Regions from separate parts of the Homo sapiens genome. Here region 1 is linked to region 2. The links are contacts of gene promoters, found by promoter capture Hi-C in human tissues and cell types (Jung and others, 2019). All regions are on one chromosome and are shown on one strand. The core of a region is centred on a gene start or on the middle of the fragment in contact, and the rest is flanking DNA. Distances in the headings are between cores, read along the strand shown.

What was found. The method cuts DNA at HindIII sites, captures the fragments that hold promoters and counts their contacts. A contact is called where the count stands out against the background at its distance.
Region 1: a contact is called between a fragment that was not itself captured here and the fragment with the promoter of CISH in region 2, in 2 of the 25 tissues and cell types used here (mesendoderm cells and small bowel).

The regions. Positions count from the first base shown.
Region 1 is chr3:50,540,682-50,544,172 of GRCh38, forward strand. No RefSeq gene overlaps it. Among named protein-coding and RNA genes, the nearest start is that of C3orf18, 25 kb to the right of the region's middle. The HindIII fragment of the contact is 8,809 bases long and covers 1-3,491 here.
Region 2 is chr3:50,610,226-50,614,150 of GRCh38, forward strand. It overlaps CISH (cytokine inducible SH2 containing protein), which reads right to left and starts at 1,549. Exons shown (of 3, transcript NM_145071.4): 1 at 1,406-1,549. The coding sequence starts at 1,425. It also overlaps a transcript of MAPKAPK3 not described here. RefSeq lists enhancers at 508-1,068, 1,978-2,067 and a silencer at 1,418-1,897. The HindIII fragment of the contact is 7,054 bases long and covers 1-3,925 here.

The sequences.
Region 1 (3,491 bases), core at 208-2,707, 70 kb before region 2:
CAACCTCATGGAATGGAGACAGCACCTGCTGGCCGAGGGCCTGGCTGCTGGGAGCAGTTGATGGAGATAAATGATTCCTGTCTGAGGTGGAGGTCAGGGCCTGGCAAGGCAGCCTTGGGCCTGAGGGATGGCTCTGGGCTGGGCCAGGGAGTCAAGGAGACCTCTTGCAGTGGATCTTCCTGGGCAGCTGGGACCCAACTCTCCGTAGCCTATGGGGGCCATCCGCCCACCCCACCCTCCCTGACGCAGGGGCTGAGAGTATCAGCAGAGGTCGGCTGGCTCTGCCCTGTCTCAGGTTGGAAAGCTGAGCCCTGCCAGGCCCTCAATTGCACTGTGGGTCAAGCCTCCGCCAGAGCAAGGAGTGGTGGGTTTTCCCCATTTGTCAAGTGGACCAAGAAAGACCTCAGGGCAAGGACTAGGCTGCTGGAAAGGCCTGGTCCCAGACCTTGTTCATTTCTTCATTCATTCATTCCCACATCTGCCCCTGCTGTCCTTTCTGGCCTCTCCACGCAGTAAGGCCAGGCCCTCCCCTCTGCCCTGGCATTTCCTTGCCCATGCCGCTCCCCTCCTGCCACATCAGCTTCCTGCTGTTTCCCCAAGAATCTTCTGGACCTTTGCTTTTGCTGTTTTTTTCCCCTCATCTGGAACCCTTCTGTCCCAGATCCCTGCATGGCCAGCAACTCTTGACATTCAGGTCTCAGCCAGTGCTGAAGGTGCCCTCCCTCCTTGATCGCCATCAGAATCTGCCCCCTCCATTTTTATTCCCATGCAGTCCTGGTTGGTTTCCTCCAGAGCCTGAAAATGCCTTGTTTTGTTGACACACCTGTTTATTATCTATCTCCCCTTAGCACTGGGGAGCCCCAAAGAGGAGGCACCTCACCAAGCCTTGCATAGGAACCGAGGTCCCAGCTGCTTTCCCCACCCATCCATGAGTGCCTGAGTCCCCATGGTCATTCAGGTCAGCATAAGGCAGGCCCTGGTCATGGACAGGAAACAAGAGGAGTGTTTCCAGGGCAACAGGCTGCCCATCTCTGAGGGACTCCATGTAAAGGCTTATGGGTTTGGATCTAGGCTCTCAGAGGGGGTTCAGATGGCCAGGACCCAAGGACCTTGCACACCCAGAAAGCAGGTTCCTTGAGCCCTGCCTGGGCTGGCCCCTGTGGCTGGAACCCAGAGGGGGGTGCATGTAGATATTAGCAAGTCAGGGCACCTCCACCCCCAATGATGGAGACAAATGAGAGGGGTATGGAGCTGTAGTGGACTATGAGGAGGTTGGTGCAGCCTTATTGATGCAGGGGTTGTGAATGGGGACAAGATGGGGCAGAGGAGGGCACAATATGTTGGGAGAATCCATAAACCCTCCTGGACACCGCCCTCTGTGGGGAGGAGGGGAGGTGTGCTCCACAGGTGTGTGTGGGGTGGTGGGGGGGGTAGCTCTGGGGCCCAGCTCAGCTCAGCCCATGGGAGGCCAGTGCCAGAGCCTTTACCACCACCCTGGTGCTGAGCCCTGGGTGGGTAACCAGGCAGGGGCAGTGGAGGAGCCAGCCAGGTCCTGGCTCCTCTTCTCTCCCTCTACACTCCCTGCCTCCTTGGGCTCCAGGAAGGGTCCTCTCTGGTTGACATCTGAGAATTAGTGGGCCTGGTCAGTGTGGGCATCTCAGGGGGCCTAGACCCTGAGGCTCACCCTAGTAGCATCCAGTCTGTTCCTCCAGCTCAGCTACTGCCCCAGCAGCTTCTACAGGGGTGGGGCTAGGAAGGGAGCCAGGGCCACAGGCCCCTCATTCCTCTGAGATTGAAGGGGTTCCTGTGCCTGGGGGAGTGGGGGGGCATGACCCCATCTTTCCTCAACTCTTTGGAGGACCTCAGAGTCTCTTTGGAGGTTAAATCCACAGCTCCAAGGAGGGGATGGAGTGAGGCAGAGTAGGGCTTGCACTGCTGCCACCTGGTGGCTGAAAGACGTAAAGCACCTAAAACACCTGCTATTCCAGTTCCCAGAAGGAATTGGAGAAGGCAGTGGAGGGAAGGATGCTCCTGAGGGAGCAGAGGCACAGGGAGGTAGAATATGCACTCCTTGCTCCAGGTCAGCATCCTGGCCTGCAACCTTTGCCCTCACTCAGCTTGGTTCAGAGCCTCCCCAGGTGCCATCAGACATTTGCCCACCATAGCCTTCCAGAATGCTAGCAAGGCCAATCTAGCATCAGGGATGCCTGTCTGGCCTCTACTATACTAAGGGGAACAGAGGGCCCAAATGACATCCAGGGGCACACACAATGGGTCTTGGTGTATGGAAGAGAGGGAAGAGTGGGATCTGGGAGGCAGGCAGGGAGAAGGTGGAGCTGGGAGGTGGGTGCGGCCTAGCCGGGCCCTGCCTGCCCTGTCCTCGCCTTACTCACAAATGCTGCTGGTCTTCTTCTTGCAGGACCTGGATTGAGTCCCATGAGGCTCTCCTCCACACCCCATTGTCACCTACTTGTGTCATAATACACCACCCCTAGTTCCAGAGCAGGGGCAGGGGTGGGGGGAAGAGGGGAGGCTTGCTCAGGAACCCCCAGCAGAGGGCCCTCAGGAAGGAATATAGTTCCTTTCTACACCTCAAGCTCAAGATTATGGCATGGGGCCAGGCACGGTGGCTCACACCTGTAATCCCAACACTTTGGGAGACCAAGGCAGGTGGGTTGCTTAAGCCTACGGGTTGGAGACCAGCCCGGGAAACATGACAAGACCCCATCTCTCCAAATAAATTTTTTAAATATTAGCCAGGCACGGTGTTGCATGCCTGTAGCTCCAGCTGCTCAGGAGGCTGAGGTGGGAGTATCGCTTGAGCAGGGGAGGTCAAAGCTGTAGTAAGCCGAGATTGCGCCACCGCACTCCAACCTGGGGTGATAAAGTGAAACCCTGTCTAAAAAAAAAAAAAGAAAAGAAAAAAAAAGATTATGTCAAAGTCACAAAGTCTACTGAAGGAATTGTGATGTGGCAGGCAAAGTTAAAATTGGGTACAAAAATGGACTGCTCCTGGAATCCAAGGGAAAAGTCAAGTGCAGTTCCTCCCATGGACCTTTACCTCCTTTTCCTCAACCTCCAGGAGGTAAATCCCACCCAGCTCACCCTGTCCTACTGGGGATGGTGTCCTGACAAAGTTTGCCCCTTTCCACCCACCAGGCAACAGGATGTGCTATTTCCCCTGTCATACACTTCCTAAAGTCTCAACAACTCAGTCAAGCATAACCTCTGGGAAAATATGGTGTTGAAATCACTGGATGATAATCTGGGGGTGGAAATCCACTTGGACCCCTACCTCACACCTTAAAACAAAAACCAGTTCTAGCTGGATCAAAGGTAGGGGGACTAAAGAATGAAGAAAAAATCTCTAGGCAAAAACAAAGGTTTGATTTGGTCTAGCCTTTTCTAAATATAACAAAAAACACAAAAGCCGTAAGAGAAAACATGGATACACCTGACTCCACAAAAACCAAACATTTCTACACGGAAAA
Region 2 (3,925 bases), core at 299-2,798:
GGCTGGAACCTCTGTGGGTGGCCACGTCCAGATAGCTTAGCCGGTCCTCAGATCCCACATGTAGGTGTGGGCACCTTTGGGGCTGATGTGGTAGCTGGGTGTATGAATAGCTGTGTTGATCACCACAAGCTCCTGGTGAGTGTGTACCTGGGCAGGGGTGTGTCCATGGCTGTGTCATCATCATGGTGGGGACAGTGGCTGGTGTGTTCTAGGTACATGTGTGTGCCCGCTTTGGAGCGCAGCAGTCTAAAACTTTGTTCCCTGACACCCAACAGTAGCCCTGAGCTTACAAGGGGGTGCTCACCTAGGGTAAAAAGTGAAAGAGGCTATGGGACCCCGGAATGCAGGGGGAGGCTCCTGGGGTGGAAGGCAGTGGTGGGGCAGGTATTCAGGAGTCCCAGAATGCAGACAGGAGGAAGGAACTTGCTGGAGACAGCAAGGGAGAAGTAGTCTTCCCAGCACCTCCATGTCCTCTTCCTTGGCCTCACCTTCCACCCTCCCTCACTTGGCACCAGGCCAGTTGCGATAAGCACAGCCACCCAGTCCTCCCTGAGTGCAGAACACCCATTTATACCTTCTTCCTCTCTCCTTGGAGCTTCCTGAGCTCCTGTCACATCACCATGGCCAGCATCAGACCCTTTGGTTGAAGGGGTTGCTGAGGTTCAGGACAGAGTGGATGGCCAGGAATGCTCAGCTCAGGTCAAGACTCTGTCTTATCAGCATCCCCTCTCCACTGTCCCTTACCTCAAGTCTGGGAAATTTGAAGATGAGAGGCAGGAGCCAAGGTCCTTCTCACATTGGGATCCCAGACTGGGCTGAGACAGGGTTGTGAGACGATTGTGGGGGTACCCCAAGCAGGACCAGGCCAAACCCAGGGCCTCCCGAGAGTTGCAGACCATCAGGTGCCAGCCTGAGGAAAGGCAAGGATCTGCGGCTGGCTTCCCAAGAAGAGCCTACTTGCTAGCCTGGGGCAGGAGAGGGGACACCAGGACAGAGGGGGCCAGGGGCTGGTCCAAGGTTACTAGCAGGCAGGGCAGCAGGCAGGCTAGCGTAGAGTGCTCTGGGCCCAGAAGAATATCTGGGATTGTTGGCCACATCTTGGGGGACGCCGTGCCGTTAGCATCCATCTGCTCCAATGAGAACCCAGGCTGAGCCCACCCTGTGAGTTCCTCCTTTAGCCGGCCAGCCCCCGGTTTCCCAATCCACAGTGGGAATTGAGGTAAGTGTGTGGGGGCGGGGAGTGGGAGTGTCACAGCCCCACACAGAGCCTTGCTCCTGAGGTCCGTCTGCGCTCAGTCACCTCTGGCCCGTCAAGCCCTCCCAATGCCCGGCAGCTAGCACGAAGCCCCTGTTCTCCCGTGCGCCCCTCGTGGTGGCCGGGAAGGGGGCAGAGAGCCGCGCTTACCCCTGAACGCAGAGGACCATGTCCCCGCGGCAGCGGCGACTCCGGAGTGGGGACTCGGCTGGACGGCGGCGGCTGGAGGGAACCAGTGGGCGCGGAGCGCGTGCTGGGTAGGCTCCCGGGGCGCGCGGGCGCAGGACAGGGACTGAGAGGCAGTGGCGCGGACCGCCTGCGAGGGCGAGGGGGGCGGGCCAGACGAGCGGGGCGGGGCGAGCTGCTGCCTAATCCTTTGTCTGCCGCGTTCCAGCCCTTCCCGGAAGCAGCGTCTTCCTAGAACCGCGGGCTGAGCGGTGGGGCCCGGGCGGGGTGCGCGGGCCCCGTCGCCGGGTCTGGGGCCCTGAGCAGTGAAAGGAAATACTTTGACAGATTTCCAAGAACTTTCCAGGAAAACGGGGCGGGGCCCCGCGAGCTGACCAATCGCGACGCTGAAGGTGGAGCCGAGCGGTCGGGGAGGGCCAATAGCAGCGCGTGGACCCGGGGCTGAAGCTACCCAGAGGGGCAGGTCGGAGAGATCAGTGGGGAAAGACCGGGTCGGGGAAGTTAAGGAGGGGCCCGGGCTCAGCAACCCGCGCCCAGATTGCCTTCTGGCATTCTGCGTCGTTGGGGAAGGGCCCTCTTATCTCGCGGTGGAACTCGTGGCAGGGCGGGGGGCGGAGTCCCGGGCTTGTCCTCCCTGCGAGCGGCTCCTCCAAGGAGGTCTGTCGGCGTGTGCAAGCGCCCCGTGTTGGGACGGCCGCTCCTGGACCCTAGGACTCTGTGTGTCGGGTGTCGGATTGGGTGGCATGGGGTGAGATCTGGAGCGGGACTTAGGGCAGGGCGGGGTGCAGAGGACAGTTCCAGAAATGAGTGGGTCCACTGAGGTCAAGCCGGCGGTCACCACAGCCAGAAAGATCCAGACAAGAACGTTTTCTTTGAAAGAGTTGAAGGAGAAAGCACGCCCCAACTTTTCGAATCAGGCAGACCATCCAGTCTTGGCTGGCACTGGTTTCTGGCCGGCCCTGCCAGTCAGGGGAGAAGAGACTACAGATTTGAGAAAGCAAGCAGAGACAGCCCCAGATGGCCCGGACTCTGGGTTGGTACCACCCCCACCCCCCGCCAGAAAAAAAATGCTGAGAGAGAGTCCTGCAACTCAAAACATAGGGAGATAATCTGGGAGTAGGGTGATAGAGGTTGGGGCGGGATGGCGGGGGCAGAGTAGTAACACTCGCTCTTATCTACAGGGAGTACTTGCTGCATTTGATCCTCTACAACTGGTGTTGCTCCCGTTATGCGGACAGAAGACAGCCCCAGGGAACAAATGCTAGGAAATGGCAGGGTAAGAGCTTGGTCCCAGCTCTGAATCAGAAGCCCACGCTCCTACCAGGACCCTCTCCACCTTTTTTCAGTTCACTGGATTCACTATGGAGCATCTTGAAGGACTGTAGGGTCTGTGAATCTCCTCCAAACCCTTGGGCCAGAAGAACTGTGGGATTTGGAGAGGTTGCAGGGTCCACTCCCCACCCCCATCCCCCTCCCAGTGTGTGCCCCCAGGGTCCCCAGAAAGGAGTCTAGCTCTGAGATCCTGGGCAGGGATGACAGACCCCTGGCCTTGTTGAAGGGCCTGAACGATAGCATCCAGGGAAGACAGGGCTCAGTTTGCTCTGCCCAGAATGGCAGAGGGCAAAAGAAACCTGAAAGCAAAACCCTGTGAAACTGGGGAAAAAACGTTAAGTTTCAGATTTCAGGGCAGTCACTTCTCTGTAGCTTTCCTGAAGGGAAGCCGGGCTTCATGAGTGCAACTCTGCCAGCCCCCTCCTGAGTTGGCCAGAAGCCACTTTCTTGGAATGGGGGTAGGGGGGATGGATACCTTATAACCCACTTTGAGGGCTGGGATACCTGGATAGCCTGATATGCGGCCCCTGTGTGGACCACTGACTTGCCAGTAGGAACTGTCCACTGTCTCATTACTATGAAGACAAAAGGACTTTGCCGCTGCCAGGCAACAGAGTTACAATTTTGAACTTGGGTCTCTTATGGGGCCAAATCCCAAGCTCTCTACCAAAACTATACTTCTTCCCCCTCACCATGACTATTCAACTGAACACTTACTATGTGTCAAGCACTCTCAGCAATTTGCAGCCTCATGTCATTGTCACAACTACCACATATTATCTCCTCTTTACAGGTGAGAAAACTGAGGCATGGAGAGGTTACAATATAACTTAGATCTCCCAGCTGGCAAGTAATGGTTTAAGCCAGGAGCCTACACACTTCCTCCTACTTCCTCTATGGGTGCTGGTGATCTGCCGACTCCTAGACATCCAGCTTTAAGGTCCTCAGTGAAGCTTCTCTGCCCCCAGGCCTGTCCATGTCAGAGCACCATGGGTGTCCCTTTGAAAGTATCTCCTACAGGTCAGTGATTATGCAGTCTATGTGTAAACCAAAGGGTTCCAAGGGTTTTGGCCTTCCAACTATTTTTGTGTGTGTGTGAATATGACAGCACTGTGCACCTCACCTGCATGCTGGGAACAGTGATGTGCCCCT